Linked DNA regions of Homo sapiens: regions 2 and 3 are each linked to region 1. Evidence: promoter capture Hi-C in human tissues and cell types (Jung and others, 2019). All regions are on one chromosome and are shown on one strand. Each heading gives the region's core, a stretch centred on a gene start or on the middle of the fragment in contact. The rest is flanking DNA. Distances are from core to core; before and after follow the strand shown.

Region 1 (3,714 bases), core at 423-2,922:
GACTGGGAGCAGTGTCTCCGATGCTGCTGCTTGCCTCTGTCTTTCCAGGGACCAAAGTGCCCTTTCTCTCTAGCAAGGAAGGATGCTGCCTTTGGGCTAAGACTGCTTAATAAAAATCCTTGCCCTTACGTCACAATTGTTAGATCTCTAAGGGTGATAGGTCAGCCAGTAGACATCCTGCCCCCCACAAGCTCTCTGGGGCACTGTATTAAGTAGGTCAGATGATGTGTATGTGTTATTGATTCACATGGGCAAAAACATATTTTTTCATCATTTAAAATATGAAACAGGTGGCTTTGCTCTTAAGAATAATGTTCAGCTCCCCATTATTGCTTGACTCGCTCTCGCCTTTTTTTGGTATCTTCCTGTTCCAGCTTTTGCTGGTCCCTTATGCTGCCATTACACATTTCCTCAAAGGACCTGTGCAAATTCATGTGTAATAATTGGTAAACTTTGATGTATAATAATTGGTAAACAGATTGGGCCTGGACAGTGCTGTGCAAATAGAGTATGAAAAATTACTTTCCCTTCTAGGCGAACTAAAAACATTCATTTCTTTATCCTCTATAATTAAAATCCTATTTTGTTTTCTGAAAATTAAAAAAAAAATCTACAACTTTGGAAGTAGTGTAAAAGTCTGATAATGATGAAGCAAATTACAATTCATACATAAAATAGAATATACTTAAATGTTTAGGAAGTATTTTTACTGATTTTGGAAAATGCAATACAGTTAAATTGCTAAGAACAGTGTAAACACAAAGTAAATATGCAAAATAAGTATTAACTATTACTATTACAACAAATAGATGTCAAAAGGATATAAAATTGTGATTCTTAACCTTTTTTGACCATAAACTCCTTTGAGAATCTCCTAAAAACTGCAGACCTTTTCTCAGAAATAATGTATATATATATACACACACACACACACACACAGACACACACGCACACACACAAACACCCCTACAATTCTGGGAGTCCATGAACCCCTTGAATCCTTCTGCCATGTATTCTGTGGGCCCTCACATAAGAGTTCATGATAAACTATGTGATTTTAACTGACCGTACTTTTAGAAACCTGGAAAAAATGATCACATTTTATTAACAGTTGGCCTCCAGCTGGTGGAATTATGGGTGACTTATTTCTTCCTTTTTTTAAAATAGTTTTCAAAGTTTCTACAGTAGTATGTTGATTTATATTGAAAAAAGAACATAAATGATAATCTGATAAAACAGCCTGTCTTATGCAAAAGAAATGAAAACAGAGATTATTCATTGAGCAAATATAGACAATAACTAGATTCTCCTTATCTCCCTGGGTGGGTCTGACTATGCCATTACTAGCAGTACCATCAGCCTGCAAGCACTAACTGTGTGCCTGGAAACATGTTCAGTAGTTTTCATGTTTCTCCAGTTTAACCCACACAGCAGCAAATGGCAGTGATGGAATTTGAACGAAGAGCAGCTGAGCTCCATAGCCTGGCATTTTGCACTGTACCCTACTACAGACAGGAATCTGAGAATACCAACAATACCTGGGGTTAGTCCTCCCTGTCTTCTTTTCAATATAAAGAGTAAAACAAATGACTCACCAGCAGAGATGCTTTGCCAGTTTGTTCCAGAGATGAGCTTGCTCATGAAGCAAGGTCTGCCTCTACTTCTGTGATGTGGTTCATGTTTCCGCTGAACATTTTTTAAGAGCCCTCAGCTGGTTACTATAAGAGACCCACCCCCTACTCCCGTCCTTCAGATCAGAATCCATATGACCAACCCGCCCCTGTGTAACGCGTGGGTCAGAGATGGATGGGTGACTGATACCCCACACTCCCTTCATTCTGCTTTGGGGCTGATTCTTCTGTCAGGGCCTGACGAGCTTTATTCGTAAACTAAAGGGGAACAATAAGGAGGTTTGGCTCTGGCCATCCACCGAAGATGGTGGCATTTGTACCTTAAAATTACTTAATTCACTAGTCAGACATCTTTTTGGAACAGTTAGGGTCTGGGCCAATGCTGAGTCCATGGTATGGGCTGGGTTCTGCGTGCATATGCAGCTCCAGCATATGTGATAGCTGTTAAGCCCCATAGCAGCCCTGCAGTGGATATTATCCTGCCTTTATAGATGAGAACACTGAGGACCATAGCCAAAATAACAAGCCCTGGTGCACACAGCTAGAAACTGGAAAATCGAAGATACACACTCAGGTATCTGTCATTACCAGACCAATCAACAGCATGATGATGGGTCTGCCAGAGGGCCTGGTGCAGCCCCACCTCCTAAGCCCACACCACTCAGGCACTCAGCAGGCAGTGCCCACCCACCCTGCGTAGGCTGGCTGGAATCATCTGGTTTCCTTGGGCTGCCCTCTGTACTCCTGGAATTCCCCAGATGTTGACTACTTTGATCTCAGTACAGTTCTAGTTGTCAGTCTCCATGATCTAACATTACTGACCCTTCTGGGAAATAACGCTGGAAGGCAGGAATTGGAGGCATGTCAGCCTGGGTCACATGCCCCAGTGCCTTGTAGTGGAGAGGGTACTAGGGAGAGGCATGGACTCGATGTCTGCTTTCCCAGAAGCAGCTGCCTTCTTGTGGAGGTGCCTGGCCTGCCTTCTCTGGCTCTGCACTCCCATTCAGGCTGCTTCTCTCCAATGCTGTTGCTCTCTCCCACCTGCTAGGCAAACCTTCTCATGTGGCTCTTCCTAAGGGCAAATGTCAAGCATTGGGAGCAGGGACCAGGAGCAGCCTCAGGATCCAGAGACTAACACTCATTTCTACCGCAAGCCTGGCCCTATGCTGGATGCTTCTATGTACAGCCATCTAATCCTAGTCACGTACAGATAGGCAAACAGAAGATTAGAGAGATTAGCCCACTTGCCCAAGAACACACATCCCTGGCAGTCACCCAGGACTGTCAGGCTGCAAAGCCAGTGCTTCCTGCCCTGCTCTGAGTATGGAGCTGTGCCAGGGGGCCCTGATAAAAGATCTGAAGACCTCTAGTAGGTTTGCAGGCCTTTTTGAATGAATTCGTTCAGACTGTCCTTTCTACCAAACTGGTACAAATGAGTGAGGTGTTCCTTATGGGCATGAACCATGAGGCCGCATAGACTACATACCGATGGACAGATGGATGTAGGGAATGGTGGACAAATGAATAAAGGAACAGACTGAGCCAAATATGCACCTGTCTTCCTGAAAGAGAACTTTCAAGGCAGGGTGGCAATTTAATGTAACCCTGCCTGACATTTAGGAATCTTTAAGCTTTGAGAGCTGAGTTTTACCCAGGGACAACCAACCATGCCATTCAAGACAGGTCCATAGGGCAGTGTTAGAATGGCCTGAGCCTTGTCAAGCACCCTTGGCCATGCTTTTCTCAGCAAGCCTTTCTACTCCATGGGGAAAAACAAGCCAGCACCTGGGGCCCTCCATGACTGTGTGTACATGTCAATATGGGGATATGTGTATTTGAGAAAGCATGGCTTGTTTATCGTGGCCATTCTTTAATAGAAACTTCTCTATAGTACAAAAGACTTTCACCTAAATTTGAGGAGCTGAGCCACTTGCAGGTTTGGGGCTAAAATTTTATTTTAATCACTTTACAAAATGCCGTTTACTATCTGCCAATTTATAGTGTTAATTGTTTTAAGGGCATTACTTTTATTTGAAACAAAACTTTGAACTTCCTAAGGGTGGGAACCCAATCATATATGTCT
Region 2 (3,714 bases), core at 443-2,942, 240 kb after region 1:
GTAAACTGGAGTGTAACAGCAATAAAACTGTGATAACTCCTAGAATGTATGTTAGGTTTTTTCATGGAAGAAAAAATAATCCCATTAGGAATAACATAGTCTGCATTCGCAGTGGTGAAAAGAAACTGGCTAAGAAACTGTCAGCAAGTCAGTCGCTCATCAGTACTGACTTTGCGTGGAAGTATTTTATCATGTGTCTTACTGATGACTGTTTGGCATCATCATCTTTACATTCAAACTATTCATGACCTTTAGCTTTTCAGTCTATTCAAATGGGTCTGCAATCTCTACCTACAAATAAAACATTACTGAAAGATCAAGGATAACTGAAAATACACCCACATTAAAGCTCTTGTAAGACACTAGGTTGTATCAACATGGTATAAAGAGTAGTATAATTTAAACTTTAGGAGAAGTGTACTAACACTAGTTAAAACCAGTCAGCTATCTTGAGAGAGCAGCCACCAAGCAACAGACAAATAGGAAATGTCAAATTATCAAACTAAAACAGAGCTCTAATTCCATTTGATCAAAGACAAACTATATATAGTACCTACCAGAATTACCACATAATCAAAAAAACAGAAATTTTATAGCCATACTTGTCTTACACCCCATTATCTCATGGAATATATTTTCGTACTTCACTTCACCCACTCAAAGGCTATTTACTGAATGCCTACTCTATGGTTATTCAAATATTGTACTTTAAGAAAAAAATAAATATAGAACTCTGGGGGTGAATAGAATCTTTAAACAAGTGAAATATGAAATTCTAAATATGTTATCACATGGTATATTAATTTGCCACCAAAATTATTTCGTATTTATCTATTTGGAAAGTCAGGGTGTTCCACACAAGTGAAAAAAAAGTTTGTTTTTCACATCCCAGAAAAGCATAACCAAAGTATAACTGGTTAGGTAGATAAAACTTAGAAACATCATTTGCCTAAGAACACCTACAAGTTTTAGTCAGTGAAGTATATTTTATTTTTCATTTATTAAATTTCCACATAGTCATGAAAGCTTTCAAAACAAAAGTAGCTGTTAAAATTCCATACTCTTAAAGCTGAAACAACTTTTTCACTCTCAAATATCTTAAATCTTACAGCTAGAAAGAAGCTTAGCTATCTAAACCAATCCTGTTAAAATACAGCTAAGGGAAAAAAATAATAAATATTATGTTTTTAAATCCTTACGGACAGTAAAATGCTACCTAAAATTTTCAAGATCATTTCTCCTTTTCACAGAAAAGGAGATAGCATAAAATTGATGCACCAACCTATGAATGAGGTAGCAAGAATAAAAATTTTAATAAGAATGCACTCAGAGATCCACACACTGACACACCTCTGAGTGATGTTTTTTAATTACTGTAATTTATGTATAAAATCTTTCTCCCTAAACTTCTAAATCTGGCTGTAAAATACCTGCAAGGGTAACCTCTGTGGACACACGGTCAATGGTAAGTACGTCATCTGCTCCATCATCACAAGCTTCCACATAAAATTTTTCAGGTGTGATATGCCTAAGAAGAAATGTAAAACATAAATAACTAACCAAATGAAATGAAGACTTCTAAAAAACTACTTATTATGACAATTACAGAGTATAAATTTGACATCATTTTCCCAGCTTCTAAAAGGATGAATCTGTTAAGTTTGCTGTCCTTATGAGTTCACTGCAACTCTTTTCACTTGTATATTTGATGCTGACTAGGTTTTGATTTGCTATGAAACCATCAATTTAACATATACAAAAAAATGCCATAATCAAATCTAGTTTATTATATTCAACAGGGTACAGAAGGCAATGTAGCATAGTAGGACCAGAGCCTACAGAACCAGACTACCAGTAGTGTGACCTTAGACAAGTTACTCATTCTCTCTGATCCTCTTATTCCCTTTCTGTAAAATAACGATAATACCAGATTCATCACGCAGCATCGTGTGAATTAAATGAGCTAATCTTTGGTAAGTACTTTGAACATCTGACGCATAGTAAGCAAGAGGTATTAGCTAAAAACAGTAAGAAATGCATTTTAAATAAAATATTTCCAGGAAATTTTTAAAAACAAATTACTTTAACATTCAGGTGGGGTGTTTTTTTAGAAACCCATATATATGTTCCTGAAAAAAACTCACTCTGGAAAATAAAAAATAAAGGAGGTAGAAACACGGTTGAGAGAGACTACTTAAAATTTATGCAACTTTGTAATTAGAGTCTAACAAAAATAACAGTTGGTTTCTCAAGAAACAACTTAAATAGTTCAGGCAAGCAACTCAGCATGGTGAGGGACTGACTCAGGATATACAAAATATTAACAGAATAAAGTAAAACTGCGTTTTCATTTGCAGGCACTAAAACGATGCAGACTGAAGTAGAACTCCAAGCCACTGATGGAGACTGCTGTTTTAAGGTAGGCACAGGAGAAGATACAACCTTTCCAGAAGCTGAGCAAGGCTGGGGAGGGAGGCTGAGTCCAAGAACTATTTCTTTTTCCAGAAACTAATCTTTATTGTTCACAAACCAGACTTAAAAGAATTTCTATCTGTTCTATCTGTGCAGCAGCCAATCTGAGGGCTTTTTCTTTTCCTTTTTAATTCTACTCCCACTTGCCTATGAAAAATCTCATTCAAACCCACACAACCATCATGGACATCATTTTCTATTTACCAATTGTGTATAAGCTATTTGGCATTATAGAAAAATGTCCTGCAGCAAAACAAACTTTTGACTCTTTTTTACTGCAAGTTCTCTGAGGAATAATCAATCCTTAATTACCCAAATATAACTTACAACCTTCTATGGTTCATCTGTAACTAACTAAATATTAGGCTAGTTTCCTTCATTTGGGGGGATATGCTAAGTAAAGGAAAATCAATACAACAAAGAAAGCAAATCTGCTTCAAATACAGCAATCTTCAATTTAACCTGAACACAACAATTCATTCCTTTTTATTACTGAATAGCATTCCATTGTACGGATATATCATAATTTGTTGATCCATTCATTTGTTGATGGCTATTTGGTAACTTTGGTTTTGGGTTACTATGAATAAAGGAACGGTTCTAGGAACATTCTTGTATAAAAGTCTTAAGGCAGATGTTCACTTCTCTTGGTTAACTCCCTAGAAGTGGAACAGCTGGATCATATGGCACATATATGTTTAACTTGTGCAGGAAGGGAGAAAAAGGAGGGATTACAGGCACGAGGAAACGTTTCAGGGTGACGGATACGTTCAATATTGTAATACTGGCAATGGTTTCATGGGTGTAAAAATGTCAAAATTTATCAAACTGTACACTTCCCTTTTCCATGTGTGTAGTTTATTGTATGTCAATCAAACTTCAATAAAGCTATAAAAAGAAAACAAAGTGAAAGGTCCTAAAACCAAAGAAATATAAAGAAATTCGAGACATCTAGTCTTAAGCCATTTTTTTTAAACCCACTATTTCAGTCCGTATCTACAGAAGATGTTTTATGGAAGCACAAGTTGCATTCCAAGTGTAAGCCATTAACATTTACCAAAAGGCTACCGCATACTAAGCATTATGCAAGCACTAGGGGCTATGCGGCAGGTGATGAATACATTCCAGGGAAAGCTGAGCCAGGAATTTCAGTGCTTTGTTTTGGGGACTCACTGATGGTAGGCACGGAATTGAGATTCAAACCAGTTTTGTAAAAGTCTAAAGGCTATAACTTTTTCTTCA
Region 3 (3,714 bases), core at 394-2,893, 200 kb after region 1:
GCTTAGAGATGCTAGGAACTGCAGGACCCCAAAGAGGGAGTCACAGCCCTGACTCAGGGAACTCCCAGGTCTGGGTTCCCTGAAGGGCTGCAGGTCTTCTCTCCTTCGCGCACAATGTGGTGAGCAAGGGGCATTTCAGCCCTGTTTGTTATAGCTCTTTTAGCCTCACCATTTGGCGGGTCCTGAGTTCTTGTCCTGTGGCCAGGAAGAATGAAGTATGTGGACAAGTGGAGGATGAGCAAGATGAAGAGGAGCTTTATCGAGTGATAGAACAGCTCAGAGGAGACCTGCAGGGAGTACCTCCTTTCCGCAGCCAGGGTGTTCCGATAAGTGTTCAGCTCCTAGCAGAGAGGGTAGCTGCTCTCTCCAGGCAGGTCATCCCAAGTGTTCAGCTATCAGCAGAGAGGGTAGCTCTTCTCTGCAGCTGGTTGTCCCATTGTCTCTGCTCTGCTTTGGCTGAGCCCAGGGCCTTTCTGGGCCTCAGGAGGGAGAAACTGAATATGCCAATTGGTCCGTGGGCAGCCATAGGTGGGACCAGAAAAGGCACAAGTTCCCATTCCAGTCAGGTCCACAGAACTGGCAGCCCAGCCCCCAGCTTCCAGGCCGTCCGTGGCCTGAAGGTGGGGCCTCACCAGGGACCCGCCCCTTTCTGCCCAGGAGCCTGTCTGCCTCCTGCAGCCATCCATGGTGCCCAGACTGCTTGACCAAGGGGCACCTGCAGGTCAGCACCGAGACACCCTTAGCCTCCCCCTCAGTTTCCCCTCCCCTCCACCAGTGCTTGTTGGTGCCCAAAGTCCAGAGGGGGCCGACGTGGCAGGAGGCTGGCTTTTCAGTGCTGCCCCAAGTGTGCACACACCCTGCTGAGCTGTGACAATGCCCAGCTTCGGCTCCAACCCCACTCTGAGATCTGGCTCCCGAGGGTGCACAGTGCGGATACCCAGGTCCTGTGCCTGGGAAGGCGAGTCTCCCACCTGCTCCATGGACGTGCAGGCGGCTCTGGCCATGCCTCCTCGCAGTCTGGGGTAGGGGTTCAGGTTCCTTGCTGGGCCCATGCTGGCATCTGAGGCAAGAGTGACGTCACCACAAGTTCTTCCTGTGGTCCCAGTGCTCAGGGGTGGCCTAGGGCTCTCCCTTGCCTGGCTCACAGCCCTGCCCAGCAGGAGTGCCTCCAGGAGCGGATTGCAGGCCCTGGGCCTGGTCCTAGGGAGCATCAGGCTCAGAGGTCACCCCGCTATGAGGCAGACCCTGGGGATCCGGCCCTGGGAAATCCTGCGCAGAGCCTCCTCCCAAGGCGCAGGAATCCGGCGCCAGTCAGCAGGAAGGGTGCGGTGGCCGTGCCACTGGCTGTGTCCCCAAAGTGAGCACCGCTCCCACTTCCCACTCCAGGCCCCCAAAGGACAGCCCCAGCTCCGCACCCCAGGCGCGGCCCCCGTGCTCCATGTGCAAGCATGGCACCACCCCGGGCCCAGCTCCGCCTGTGGCCCTTCTCTGCCTGGTCCTCCATGCACAATCACGCTGCTCCCCCGCCGGCAGGCAACTCAACCTGGCCACATTGCGGCGGCCCCCCGGGAGACAGGCTCCAGGGGTATCCCTGCAGCAGGCTCCAGGGACTCTCCGCCCTCCTGGCAACAGCAAGCAACAGTGGTGGTAACGCGGACCAGGGTCCAGAGCAGTGGTGGCTCCAGGCCTGGAGGCAGGCCCCACTCGGCCACACAGGGGTGGGGGCGGCGCAGTCGGCTGCCACAGGGACACGGGGCACAGGGAACGTGGGGCACAGGGGTCTCACCATCACCACGGCTGCTCCTGCAGCCACCACTCACACCTCCCTGCTACGGCCGGCACAATGGCAGCAGCCACTCCAGACGGCCCACTGCTGCCATCACTAGGTACCAATGTGTTTCCATCACTATTTCCCTCATGCTGACACCTTCCTGTGGAGGTGTCATTTTCTAATAAGCAATATTTTCCCACATCAGCTGGGATTCATAACATTTTGAAAAACAAATTACAATTTGAAGGTGGGGGACACCTTTTTATGGACATTACACTTTACTAAATATTTCCCTGGGTTTCTCTATAACTAAAAATAAAAACTATAAGGAGATACAAAATTTCTTAAGTGATCATAACTGGAAAGCAAAATTGCAGAAGCTACTGATTTTCTTGCTTACTCTAATTTTTCTATGATGATCATGCATTGCTTTGTGTATTAATTTGTCTTCACACTGCTGTAAAGAACTACCTGAGACTGGGTAACATATAAAGAAAAGAGGTTTGACTCACAGTTCCGCATGGCTGGGGAGGCCTCACAAAACTTCATCATGGCAGAAGGTGAAGGGAAAGCAAAGCACATCTTAACACGGTGGCAGGAAAGTGAGCGAGCAAGGGGGTAAATGCCAAACACTTTTAAACCATCAGACCTCGTGCAAACTCATGAAAACAGCATGGGGGAAACCATCCCCCATGATCCAACCACCTCCCACCAGGTACCTCCCTCAACACGTAGGGATTACAATTTGAGATGAGATTTGGGTGGGTGGGGACACAGAGCCAAACCGTCTATCATTTTGCATGATTTTTAGCATTCTAAGATCAAAAAGAAAAACATCACTTTCAAAGTACATGAATGATACCAATAATAGAAAAGAATATGACATTTTATTTTCACTTATGGACATACAGTACATGAATTTAGAAATAAAATCGTCGCAGGATTCTGAAATACTGATACCTTAAGATCTAACACACTGATATTAGTCCATTCCCTACAAAGCAGCCACATTAGCAGTTCAGATTTGGTCTTTGTTGTAGCTGTTGACATTAAGTTCTTTAAGTGAAATGCCCAGCAGCATTTAAATAATATTTTACAGCAGACATGAACTAAGTTTCAATATTCCATCTTTGGAACAAATTATGCTTATTTACATGTTAACAGGTGGCTATATTTACTTACCCTATTGTGAGTTTAATGACTGATTTTAAACTACAGAGGGTTTTCCAGCTATTATTTCCTTTAGTTTCTAAAAGTAACGACTTATATTAATGTTTTATAAAAGATAGTGATGAAAAAAAGGTAATGCTGAAATAAAGGCGCTTTTAGAAATATTTAAGGACAACATAAGGTATTAATATTGGAAAAAAACTGTACATATTTTCAAGCACAACACTGAAATATTGCAGCAGTGTTTAACTGAATTATTTAAAATAGTGGTAATTATACTACCTTACATACCGTTCTAATATTTAAATCTCTTAATTACAATTTGAATATACAATCTGACTTACAATTAGAACTATGCACAGTTTCCGAAGCATATTTTTCAGGTTTGTTTTTGCACAAAAATTAACGTTTAAGTTGGTCCTTGATTTGGAGTACTATAACTACCTGGAAGCACTAAGTTTTAGACACATTCATTGATAGCCAACAAAATCCTTGACAGAGTGAAAAACATCAAGAGTACCATGCGTGAAAAAGCAGCTGTTACCCTCCAAGTGCAATATGAAATCTAGAACAAGACCCTCTCAGAGGCCTGCGTGTCTCAATGAGTGACCCTCAAAGAAACCAAAATGTATAGGAGGAAGTAGCTGACCAGTCATGGGCATCTTCCACATTGGGATAATCTTTAAAACAGAGGCAGCTTTGGACCTCTAGCGTAAGAGATAGACTTTACATTCTTTGATTTTATTTACACTTTTTTAAAAAGATAAAGTATA

Evidence for each region. The method cuts DNA at HindIII sites, captures the fragments that hold promoters and counts their contacts. A contact is called where the count stands out against the background at its distance.
Region 2: a contact is called between a fragment that was not itself captured here and the fragment with the promoter of CXCR6 in region 1, in 1 of the 25 tissues and cell types used here (lymphoblastoid cells).
Region 3: a contact is called between a fragment that was not itself captured here and the fragment with the promoter of CXCR6 in region 1, in 1 of the 25 tissues and cell types used here (spleen).

The regions. Positions count from the first base shown.
Region 1 is chr3:45,941,422-45,945,135 of GRCh38, reverse strand. It overlaps CXCR6 (C-X-C motif chemokine receptor 6), which reads right to left and starts at 1,672. Exons shown (of 2, transcript NM_006564.2): 1 at 1,596-1,672. The region is part of intron 14 of FYCO1 (FYVE and coiled-coil domain autophagy adaptor 1); the gene reads left to right. The HindIII fragment of the contact is 14,146 bases long and covers 1-3,714 here.
Region 2 is chr3:45,701,252-45,704,965 of GRCh38, reverse strand. SACM1L (SAC1 like phosphatidylinositide phosphatase) reads right to left here. Exons shown (of 20, transcript NM_014016.5): 2 at 1,431-1,528. Among named protein-coding and RNA genes, the nearest start is that of SACM1L, 14 kb to the right of the region's middle. The HindIII fragment of the contact is 3,935 bases long and covers 1-3,659 here.
Region 3 is chr3:45,744,335-45,748,048 of GRCh38, reverse strand. It overlaps SACM1L (SAC1 like phosphatidylinositide phosphatase), which reads right to left. Exons shown (of 20, transcript NM_014016.5): 20 at 2,640-3,714. Among named protein-coding and RNA genes, the nearest start is that of SLC6A20, 50 kb to the left of the region's middle. The HindIII fragment of the contact is 5,647 bases long and covers 1-3,714 here.